2 separate regions of the Homo sapiens genome follow, and region 2 is linked to region 1. The links are contacts of gene promoters, found by promoter capture Hi-C in human tissues and cell types (Jung and others, 2019). All regions are on one chromosome and are shown on one strand. Each heading gives the region's core, a stretch centred on a gene start or on the middle of the fragment in contact. The rest is flanking DNA. Distances are from core to core; before and after follow the strand shown. Region 1 holds the start of ITCH (itchy E3 ubiquitin protein ligase). Region 2 holds the start of PHF20 (PHD finger protein 20).

Region 1 (6,255 bases), core at 1,588-4,087:
CAGCCTACCCTGTCCTTCTCTTTCCCCGCCCTTTTCACACTCCTACTCTTCATGTAAGACCCAATGTGGGTTCAGGGGCAAATCTTGCCTCTTCTAACCAATCCTCCACCCAGCCACACACACAGAATTGGCCACTTCCTCTTTCGTCTCAAAGCTTTTTGACCTTTCCTTGGTAAGTCTACAGTACCATTTGCCCTCAGTGGTTCCCAAGACCATCAGAATTACCTAAGGCATGTGTTAAAAATAAATTGGTTGAAGCCAACCCAGACCTACTAAATCCATCTCAGAAGGTAAGACCCTGGAATTTCTAAGCTCTCCTAATTATTCTAATGGTCAAATTTGGGGACTACTGGTTTGTCTGCCTCTCCCAATAAGTGAAAAGATGTATTTTTTAGGGCCAGGAGTGGCGGCTCATGCCTGTAAACCCAGCACTTTGGGAGGCCAAGGCAGGTGGATCACGAGGTCAGGAGTTCGAGAGCAGCCTAGCCAATATGGTGAAAACCCATCTCTACTAAAAAATACAAAAAAATTACCGGGAGTGGTGGCACGCGCCTGTAGTCCCAGCTACTACGGAGGCTGAGGCAGAAGAATTGCTGGAACCCGGGAGGCGGAGGTTACAGTAAGCCGAGATCACACCACTGTACTCCAGCCTGGGTGACAAAGTTAGATTCCGTCTCAAACAAACGAAAAAGATGTATTTTTTTCTAAAGAATGTAGAAATGTTTGATTCTAGAATACACTGAAGAAGTAGTCTGTACTCATTTTTTTAATTTCATATGATATCCTTGGTGACTTGACCTGTATGCTGAATGTAATGGAATTCCTTTTGGACTCACAAAACTTAAATTCACAGTTCAAAGAAGCAGTAGAATTTCCACCTTCATTTCTAAATTTTTTTTTTTATTTTTTGAGACAGGGTCTCACTCTGTCACCCAGGCTGGAATGCAGTGGCAACGGTAACAGCTCACCGCAGCCTCGACCCCCCGGAATCAGGTGATTCCCCCACCTCAGCCTCCTGAGTATCTGGGACCACAGGCGCCTGCCACCACACCCGGCAAATCTTTGTATTTTTTGTAGAGACGGGGTTTCACGATGTTGCCCAGGCTGATCTCCAATTCCTGGGCTCACGTAATCCGCCCACCTCGGCCTCCCAAATTGCTGGGATTACAGGCGTGAGCCACCACACCCATCCCATTGCTTTTTTTTTTTTTTTTTTTTTGAGGCGGAGTCTCGCTCTGTCGCCCAGGCTGGAGTGCAGCAGCGAGATCTCGGCTCACTGCAGCCTCCACCTCCCGGGTTCAAGCCATTCTCCTGCCTCAGCCTCCCTAGTAGCTGGGACTACAGGCGCGCGCCACCACGCCCAGGATTTTTTTTTTTTTTTTTTTGTATTTTTAGTAGAGACGGGGTTTCACCATGTTGGTCAGGATGGTCTCGAACTCCTGACCTCATGATCTGCCCGCCTCGGCCTCCCAAAGTGCTAGGATTACAGGCGTGAGCCACACACAGCACCCGGCCCATTTCTTAATTTTAAAAATAAATCGTAGCTTAAATAAACCTGTAAATACACATAGCAAGCTCTCAGCAGATCTGCCATGAGAACTTCACCTCAACTGATAAACCATTCCTTAGCCGATTTTGAGAATGGAAATACACTGCCTTTACATACTTCCTGAAGATCGAATTCTATCAGGAAAAGATGCAGGAGAACCCACCTAAGTGGGTGGCTGGCTCCAGGGTCTTACTAATTTTCAAGGCAAAAATCCCACAATTCCCCATCCCCCACTCCAAACCAAGTATACTGTAGCTGTGGAAGAATGGCAGAAAATGTAATAAGATTAGGATACGAATACAACCAAGAAAACAAGGTTGCGTTGTTATTGGGGATAATGAATTCCTGGCCCTTTACAAGTTCACCTGGTTACATGTCCAACTAACTTTAGGCCCAGCGTCTACTTCGGGCGCACAAATTCTGCGATTCTCTTTTCTGTCGCGGACGGGAACTGTCTTGGAAAACTTGAGTTCTCCACTTAAAAGTCATGTCATCATGCTTCGACCCTTAGAATACGTTCAACGGCTACTTTTTTCTTTTCTCTGCTAAAGAAAAGGGCACTCTCCGGAGGAAGGGCAGTGACAGCTCCACGTCTGCAAAAGTCGGCGCCGCCACGACGGTGGCGGACGTCGGGGAGGGCGCCGGAGCCGGGACCACCACGCCGGGGGGACAATGGAAGGAGGAGGCGAGTGGGAGAGAGAAGGGGAGGCAGCCGCTGTGCTGGGCCCTTCTAGCGACTGGGGGCTCGGAAAAGTCTCGAGAAGGCCAGCTGGGTGGCGGGGGACCCGGCCGCCGCCCCTCACAGGGCCACGTCGCCCGCGCCGGCCCCGCCGCCGGGCCCCGCGCGTAGGCCGAACCGCTGGAGAGTGGCCCCAGGCGGGGCTGAGGGGCGAGGGGCCGGACGGTACCCACGCCCGTCGTGGCCCAGCCCTTTCACAACTTGGAGCCCGCGAGGCGAAGGCCTCCGGAAGCCTGTGCCAGACACTGATCCCTCCGAACGTCCAGACAGCCCACCCCCACCGCCCGGCCCGGGCCAGTAGCCCGAGCTCCCCGCGCCCCCGACAGACACCGGCTCTGGAAGAAGGAGCAGCCGCGGCTCTGGGGTCCCGAACCGCGCGTCCCACTCCTCTACCCTTGTTCTCCCCGAACATTCTCATCCGGACTCCCTCCCTCTCCCGAGAACTGCCCCGAGTTCGCCCACGGGGGTTTACCGGGACTCGGGGCGGCGGCGACTCCTCAGTCCCTAGACTAAGATGGCAGCCGGTCCCGAGCCCCGACCACAGCTACTAGAGCGAGTTAGCAGCTAAAGCGCAGGCGCCTGAGCGCGGAAGTGGTCTAGACTACAAGCCCCAGCAGGCCTTGCGCGCCAGCCGTCCGGCCCGCCCCTGGCTTGAAGAGCTGGCTGCGGTGGTAAATCAGTTAAATCCCAGTTTTCCTCAGCTCCAGGTGAGATGGGCGCGAGCGGCTCCCAGCACCTCCAGGCTTTTTTTTTTTTTTAACACCCCGCCCACCAGAGCCTATAAGGACTGTGATTCTCAAACTATGGTGTGCATCAGAATCACCTAGAGAGCTTATTAAAACTTACACTGCTGACCCCCACCCCCAGAGTTTCTGATCAGAAGATCTGGCATAGGAGGATAGGGTCTGATAATTTGCATGTCCAACAAGCTGTCTAGTGATACTGCTAGTGAGTGAAATCATAATTTGAGAACCAATGGGCTATATAGCTTAGTTTATAACTTAGTTGTTCTTTTTTCTTTTTCTTTTCCTTTTCTTTTTTTTTCTTCTTTTTGAGATAAGGTCTCACCCTTCACCCAGGCTGGAGTGCAGTGGTGCAGTCATAGCTCACTACAGCCTCACACTCCTGGGCTCAAGCGAGCCTCCCACCTGGGCTTCCTGAGTAGCTGGGACAGCAGTTGAGCACCACCACACCCGACTAATTTTGTTCTATTCTTTGTAGAGATGGGGATGGGGTGGAGTGCGGATGGGATGGGGCGGGAATAGGGCCACGGTGTCGCCATGTTGCCCAGGCTGGTCTCCAGCTCCTGGGCTCAAGCGATACTCCCTCCTCGGGCCTCCCAATCGCTGAGATTACAGATGTGAGCCACTGCACCTGGCCTGGCTTAGCCTTTAACAATGTACATTAAAGGGCGTGGTTAAAAAGAAAATAAAAGAAAAAAAATGTACACTTGAGAGTTACACTGACCGGATTCAAATCCTCCCTTTTCTACCTTTTAACTGGGTGCCCTTAGGGATGATGACAACAGCTTAGTGGAGCCAACGTGGCCTGTCCGGTATTCTAAGAGCTGATACCAAGCTCCCTTTATTCTCACAACAAACCTATTACAGAAATACCATTATTATCCCCATTTTACAAATATATAAACTAAGTCACATACTTGATAAGAACCCAGGCAGTCTGGCGTGAAAGTCCGTTGTCTTAACCTTCTTCATGGATTGCTTGTGAGAAATAATAGGCTATGCAGGCAGAGACTCAGAGGTATGACTAAGTGCTCAATACTTAGTGACCTTTGCTATTACTGTTTAGCCTGTTTCCTCCTAATGAAAATAGTATTTTGCCATCTGGAAAGTCACATTTTTCAAAGTGACTTTTTTTTTTTTTTTTTTTTTGAGACAGAGTCTTGCTCTGTCACCCAACCTGGAGTGCAGCGGTGCAATCATAGCTCACTGCAGCCAACCTCCTGGGCTCAAGTGATCCTCTCACCTCAGCTTCCTGAGTAGCTGGGACTCCAGGCTCAAGCCACCACACTATCCTAATTGTTTTTATTTTTGTAGAGACGTGGACTCCCTGTGTTGCCCAGGCTGTTCTCAGACTCCTAGGCTTGGCTAGGGTCAGTGGCTTACACCTGTAATCCCAGGAGTTAGGGAGGCCAAGGCAGGCAAATCACTTGAGGTCAGGAGTTTGAGACCAGTCTGGCCAACATGGTGAAACCCCGTCTCTTTTTTTTTTTTTTTTTTTTTTTGAGACAGAGTATTGCTCTGTCGCCCAGGCTGGAGTGCAGTGGCGCAATCTTGGCTCACTGCAACCTCCGCTCGCCTCCTGGGTTCAAGTGATTCTCCTGTCTCAGCCTCCTAAGTAGCTGGGACTACAAGCGCATGCCATCACGCCTGGCTAATTTTTGTATTTTTAGTAGAGTTGGGTGAGCCACCACGCCTAGCCTTGTGAAACCCCTTCCCTACTAAAAACACAAAAATTAGCCAGGTGTGGTGGCGGGTGCCTGTAATCCCAGCTACTTGGGAGGCTGAAGCACGATAATTGATTGAACCCAGGAGGGGGAGGTTGCAGTGACCCAAGATCACGCCATTGCACTCCAGCCTGGGCGACTCAGCGAGACTCTGTCTCAAAAAACAAACAACAAAAGAAACATAAAGGCTGGGCGCAGTAGCTCACTCCTATAATCCCAGCACTTCGGGAGGCTGAGGCGGGTGGATCACCTGAGGTCAGGAGTTTGAGACCAGCCTGGCCAACATGGTGAAATCTTGTCTCTACTAAAAATGCAAAAATTTGTTGGGCATGGTTTGGGAGGCCGAGGCGGATGGATCAACTGAGGTCAGGAGTTCAAGACCAGCCTGGCTAACATGGTGAAACCCCATCTCTACTAAAAATGCAAAAATTAGACCGGGCACGGTGGCTCACGCCTATAATCCCAGCACTTTGGGAGGCCAAGGCGGGCGGATCACGAGATCAGGAGTTCAAGACCAGCCTGGCTATCATGGTGAAACCCTATCTCTACTAAAAATACAAAAATTAGCCGGGCGTGGTGGCGGGTGCCTGTAATCCCAGCTAGTCAGGAGGCTGAGGCAGAGAATTGCTTGGACCTGGGAGGCGGAGGTTGCAGTGAGCCAAGATCGTGCTACTGCACTCCATCCTGGGCCACAGAGCGAGAATCTGTCTCAAAAAAAAAAATGCAAAAATTAGTTGGGCATGGCACACCCCTGTAATCTCAGCTACTCGGGAGGCTGGGGTGGGAGAATTGCTTGAACTCAGGAGACGGAGACTGCAGTGAGCCAAGATCACGCCACTGCACTCCATCCTGAGTGACAGAGTGAAACCCCATCTAAAAAAAATAAAAAATCAAACTCCTAGGTTCAAGCCTTCAAGCCTCAAGCAAAGTACTTTCAAAACCACTTCATGTTTCCTGCAACATGCCTTAGGAAAGATTGCTAAAATACAGATTCCTGCGCCCCATCCTCATTCAGTTTCTCTAGTGCAGTGGTTTTCAAACCTCAGTACTTATCAGAATTGCCTGCAAAGTTAGTTAAACTGTAGGTTGCTGAGGCCACTCCTAGAGTTTCTGATTCAGTAGGTCTGGGGCAGGGCCTGAGAATTTGCTTTTTTTTTTTTTGGAGACTGAGTCTCACTCTGTCGCCCAGGCTTGAGTGCAGTGGCCCAACCTCCGCTCACTGCAACCTCTGCCTCCCGGGTTCAAGCGATTCTCCCGCCTCAGCCTCCCGAGCAGCTGGGATTACAGGTGCATGCCACCACGACTGACTAATTTTTGTATTTTTGTAGAGATGGGGTTTCACCATATTGGCCAGGCTGGTCTTGAACTCTTGAGCTTGTGATCTGCCCGCCTTAGCCTCCCAAAGTGCTGGGATTATAGGCGTGAGCCACCGCACCCGGCCAGTACAAGGTATTTTTATGACCATTATACAGAGAAGAAAACTGAGTGTGACAGAAATTA
Region 2 (5,868 bases), core at 1,064-3,563, 1.4 Mb before region 1:
AGGCGGAGGCGGGTGGATCACGAGGTCAGGAGATCGAGACCACAGTGAAACCCCGTCTCTACTAAAAACAAAAAAATTAGACGGGCGCGGTGTGGTGGGTGCCTGTAGTCCCAGCTGCTCGGGAGGCTGAGGCAGGAGAATGTCGTGAACCCGGGAGGCGGAGCTTGCACTGAGCCGAGATCGCGCCACTGCACTCCAGCCTGGGCGACAGAGCGAGACTCTGTCTCAAAAAAAAAAAAAGAAGATTGACAAGAGGATGATTGGGAGAGAAAAATATCCATTTCCCCACCGACACCCCAGGGACAAGAACAAAAAGAGTATCCAAGGGATTCCTCCAAACGACATCTTTTCTTCATAAAAGATAGTAAGAAAGCCAATATAGGGAAGAAGTTTATGGGCTAGAAGCAGTGCTGGAAAAATCTGAGAGTTTTGTTTGTTTTTGTTTTCCAGCACAAGGAGATAAAGCAAAGGAGAAAACAGTATGCACCTAAACAGAATCTTAGGTCTTCTAGAAGTAAACCACCAGGAGGATTCAGAGTCCTGTGATTAACCAAAGAAATGGTTTCCACTTTGAATCCAGCGCTGGGGGCCCAGGCAGTCCTAGACTTGAGGCCACCTCCAGCACAAGGAAAATCTTTATAGCCACTAGGTAAACAGAACAATTCCAAAGAAAGACAGAAACCAGAAAAATGTTTGGGGATTGGGCAAGCCAAGAGAGAAGAGATCCTGCTAGCGGAAAGATAAAAGATAGGCCTATCAAAAACAATGTGCTGGTAGCCCTTTAGGAGAGGAATCCTTCCCTGGGAGGAGAGGAGAATTCAGGAGGTGTGACTCTGGGAAGTGTGCTCAGAAGAAAAGCCCGCAGAAGCACAGAGAAAAGTGCCGTGCTGAACAAAGATACGCACTCGCCAGAGGAAGAGGAAATGGGTGCACTGACCAGACTGGGGAAAGCACCTCAAGGGGAGTGTGGCTCCAAAAAGGGAAGGAAACTGAGGAATGAAAATGTCTTGGATGACAGAAAAGCTAAACAGGGTAGGAAGGCATGCTCAAAACCACAGACCACTCGCCACCTGGAAATGAGAGGACTCACAAAAAGGTGTGCCCCCCAAATTTAAGAAGCATCTGGAAAGTGGCTGCACTCTGAGAGTTGTATAACTAAAAGGGGTTCACCTCGTACATTTGGGGGGCACAAGAAACAAATATACTCCCAGATATGAAAATGAGTCTCCTTCAGGAAATAAGGTAGTTTGATTTGGGGAACACGTGAAAAGTGTGTAACCCCAATAATACAGTCTCGGGAGAAGGCAGTGAATTCCCTTATTTGTGAAACTGGAAATAAGTACCCATAAACTTCAAAATTTGGACATTGTTTTCGGCCCAACCTCAGGTTTGAAGGGCTGAGGAAAGGAAGTGGCCCCTAAATGTAAGAAATTCCAGAAGGCATGCTGTCAGATTTGGGACCTGGAAAAGGGGAATTCTTCCTTGGAGTAGAGGGGATACAAGAAAGTATCCCAAAACTTTAGCTAATGGACCCCAGATCTGAGGACCCGATAACAGGGTGAACCTCTAAATTGGAACGGAAATGCAGAATCAAATTGGAGGCCCGAAAAAAGGAATGTGCTCCCACTTTGGGGGCTGACGGAAGAGGGTACGCCCTAAATTTGGGGGGGGGAGGGCTTTTAGAAATTTAGATAAAATTCCAGAGCTAGAGCTTAAGAAAGGGGGTGTGCCGCCCAGTTTTCAAAACTATAGAGAAAAGGGACACTCCCATATTTGGGGTCTTGAGAAAGGAATGTGCTCCCCAGAATAGGATAAAAAAAGCCAATTTTAAAAAACATATTCCCAAAGCGCAAGGCAATAGCAGAGGCTGCTGATGAGGCTCTAGGTGCCCACACAGCTCAGGCTCGGGCCCTAGGGCTTACCCGCACCCCCAACACGGCCCGCTCCGCGCCCCGGGCCCGCACCCCACGGCCCAGCCCCCTCGGGCGGCGCTGATTGGCGGCAGCCGCCGCCACTCTTGCGGGTAGCCCCGGGGATTGGGCACCGCTCGCACGCCCGCCACGCTCTCAGCAGCAGTCCCAGGGCCTCCCTCCAGGCTGGGCGAGCGGGGCCAGGCGGGGAGCGGGGCCGGGCAGGGGACCGAAGCAGCGGTGGCGTCCGTCGCCGTCCCCGCCCGCACGGCGCGCGCGCAGCGCGGGCCCGGCCCAACCCGGCCCGGCCGGCCGGCTTCGCCTGGCCGCGAGCTCACCTCACGGCCCCACTCCGGCTGCGCCGCTCCAGGACCAACCGACAGAAGGACTCTGCGTGCTCTGCACCACGTGACCCCCGGGACGCGCCCAGCGTATGCCCCGCCCCCCACACACACGCATCATCGCCACCACCGAGTGACGTAAGGTCCCAGCTGCCCCGCCCCCTGCCCCGTCTGCCCGATCACTGTGGCAACGGCCTGCGCAGGCCACGCCCACTACCCTGACGCGCGGGAAACAGGCCCGCGCCCTAGCAGGAACACGAAGTCCCCACTCACTCGTAATCACTGAGATCACCGAAGCCGGGGAATGGACGCTATCCATCACCCGTTAATTTTGCCACCTAAATGCGTCTCAAAGCTTCCCATTTCTCCATCGAAGCGACCACCATCTCTCTCCAAGATGAAGATGGTTTCCACCCTATTACTCTTCGCCGTTCTAATCCATTCTTCGTACACCGGCAGAGAGGTCTTTTCAAAACGCCATCCCCTGCTCAAAGCTCGTTTCCCTCCCTACTCCGGATTAAGATCTAACTCTTCACCTAGACTATCTACCAGGCTCTTCAAAGTCTGGACCTGACCTGCTGCTTTCTTATCCTCACGAATCCAGCTCCCCCACATTCTCAGTGTCCTTCAACTCCGCTAACAATCCAGGTTCTTCTCATCTCAGAGCCTTTGCACTCATTTCTCCCCCACTTTATCATTAACTCCTAGAAAGGTTTCCAATTGCTGCTAAGGATAAGGAGCTGTATTTTCTCTGGGGACGAAGGTCGGAGTTGAAGCCACCCCAAAAGAATATGAGACCAGGAGCAGTGGCTCACGCCTGTAATCCCAACACTATGAGAGGCTGAGGTGGGTAGATCACTTGAGCTCAGGAGTTCGAGACCAGCCTGGGCAACATAGCTAGACCCCCGTCTCTCCAAGAAATACAACAATTAGCCAGGCGTGAACGTGCGCACCTGTGGTCCCAGCTCAACCTTCTGAGTAGCTGGGACTGCAGGCCCATGCCACCATGCCTAGCTAATTTTTTTTTTTTTTTGAGACACGGTCTCACTGTGTCACCCAGGCTGGAGTGCAGTGGCGCAGTCTCGGCTCCTCATAACCTCCACCTCCTAGGCCCAAGCAATTCTCCCACCTCAGTCTCCCAGATAGCTGGAACCACAGGTGTGCACCTGGCTAATTTTTGCATTTTTTTGTAGAGACGCAGTTTCACGATGTTGCCCAGGCTGGTCTTGAATTCCTGGGCTCAAGCAGTCCACCCACCTCAGCCTCCCAGAGTGCTGGAATTAACACCGTACTTGGCCACTTTTTTTTTTTTTTTTTGAGATAGAGTCTCGCTCTGTAGCCCAGACGGGAGTGCAGTGGTGCGATCTTGGCTCACTGCAACCTCTGCCTCCCGGGTTCAAGCAATTCTTTGCCTCAGCCTCCCAAGTAGCTGGGATTACAGGCGCACGCCGCCACGCCCAGCTAATTTTTTATATTTTTTTTAGTAGAGACGGGTTTTCACCATCTTGGCCAGGCTGGTCTTGAACTCCTGACCTCATGATCCGCGCGCCTCGGCCTCCTAAAATACTGCGATTACAAGCGTGAGCCACCGTGCCCGGCCGAGTTTTTTTTTTTTTTTTTTTAGAGACAGGGTCTCACTTTGTTGACCAGGCTGGTCTCAAACTCCTTGGCTCAAGTGATCCTCCTGCCTCAGCCTCCAGAAATGCTGGAATTACAGGCCTCAGCCAGCAAATCCAGCCTGAGGGGTGCTTTTTAAACCAGGGCTGGAAACTAAGGAGGGTATTGCCTCAGTTGAGGTAGTCAGGGCAAAGAGCAGCCCTTAGGTAGAGACACTGTGGAACCAGGGACAAAAGCTTCAGCTACACTTGCTTGGGCAGTACATGTATTCTATTAAAATTGTAACATGGCTGGGCGCGGTGGCTCACGCATGTAATCCCAGCACTTTGGGAGGCCAAGACGGGCAGATTACCTGAGGTGAGGAGTTCGAGACCAGCCTGGCCAACATGGTGAAACCCTCTCTCTACTAAAAATGCAAAAATTAGCCAGGTGTGGTGGTGCATGCCTGTAGTCCCAGCTACTTGAGAGGCTGAGGCAGGAGAATGACTTGAACCCTGGAGGCAGAGGTTGCAGTGAGCCGAGATAGCACCACTGCACTCTAGCCTGGGTGATAGAGCAAGATTCCATCTCAAAAAATAATAATAAAATAAAATAAAATTGTAACAATACAGAAAAGATTCACATGACCCCTGCATAAGGATAAGCATGCAAATTCATGATACATTTCATACTTTTTAAAAAATCAGCAATTTGAGAATCAGTGCCACTCAGTCAAGTAAGTGCTCACATATAGGAAGGGCCTTCCCAAGATCCTCTGGGTTTATGTTTATTAATATGAAATTGCTCAGATGTCAGTGGCTATGGTAGCACACAAAGAACTTTTTGCCCCCCAACCACAATAATGCCAAGAACTCCAGACTCTGTAGCCCCGTATAAATATAGCATGTTTCTTTACTTATTCAACCTGCATTTACCGAGAGTCAAATTCAAGATGGGCACCAAACACTCAGAGCACAATGAGACTTAGGCCCTGCTCTCGAGGAGCTCACAGACTGGTGAAGTAATCATGGCAAGCAAAAGAGAAATATGTTACAAGGGCCCCTGAGCTACAACAGGAGTGCAGGCTTGGAAAACAAACAGGCACAAGGACAGCTCCACCAAGAAAGAGCAACAACAGCTGCTGCCCCCAGCAACACTGCGCACCACTGCTGTGATTCAATCTTAGTATCCCTTTGTCTTTGAGTCACTCACTCAAGAGGCAAGGTCTTGGCCAGCAGCCACTGTCGATTGGCCAATCTCAGGTCACATGGATGAGTCCAGCCTGCCAGGGAAAGAAGAGAGGAATGACCTGCCCCTAAGGGTACTCCCCAAGATGGGAAGTGAGGGTTGGAAGGAGACTGACACTGATCAGGGAAAAATAACTGAATACAGATGAGAAAAAAGTACCTTGTGAGCTAAGCTCTTTCTGATGTAAAAACTTGCAGAAATTTGACTTACCAGCTTCTTCTGAACTGAATATTAATGGAATGCTAGCCAGAGAGCTCCAGTTTACAAGATTTTGGTCTAAAGTCCACTGACTTTAGACCAGAAGTAACATCTACCTTCTGCCTTAAGATCCTCCCCAGCATCTTACTAATACTGTATTTCAAAACTGTAGTCCCAGCCCATAAGCTGAGAGCTCCACAATGAAACCCTGTGTGCATCCATACAAAGTATAGGATAGCACAAAAAGCATCTACCTGCATGGAAGAGTTGTCACTCTCTGTAGGCATTGCTTTTCTTCAATATTCACTTTTTTTACTCAATGGGATAATATATATCTACCAACGCAGAATTGTCACGTTTAAGTTCAATAATATGTGAGAAAATGTACTGAACTACAAAGTTCTATACAACTTCATTTCTAATTTCTTTTTTACTAGATTCAGCATATTCAAAATATTCCTAGCTAAAGAGAAGCAGAATTAAAGATCCAACATGAGATAAAATATTCAATTAGGAAACTGATCTTTCTCAATGTCTACCCAGCAAACCTCTATACTCTATCCTTATGCAACCCT

What was found. Contacts are between HindIII fragments. The study calls those that stand out against the background at their distance.
Region 2: a contact is called between the fragment with the promoter of PHF20 here and the fragment with the promoter of ITCH in region 1, in 1 of the 25 tissues and cell types used here (lymphoblastoid cells).

Annotation. Positions count from the first base shown.
Region 1 is chr20:34,359,855-34,366,109 of GRCh38, reverse strand. It overlaps ITCH (itchy E3 ubiquitin protein ligase), which reads right to left and starts at 2,837. Exons shown (of 25, transcript NM_031483.7): 1 at 2,761-2,837. RefSeq lists a silencer at 2,303-2,532. The HindIII fragment of the contact is 21,756 bases long and covers 1-6,255 here.
Region 2 is chr20:35,768,460-35,774,327 of GRCh38, reverse strand. PHF20 (PHD finger protein 20) reads right to left here and starts at 2,313. Exons shown (of 18, transcript NM_016436.5): 1 at 2,249-2,313. It also overlaps the pseudogene LOC124904972. RefSeq lists silencers at 567-861, 1,866-2,245. The HindIII fragment of the contact is 9,618 bases long and covers 1-3,355 here.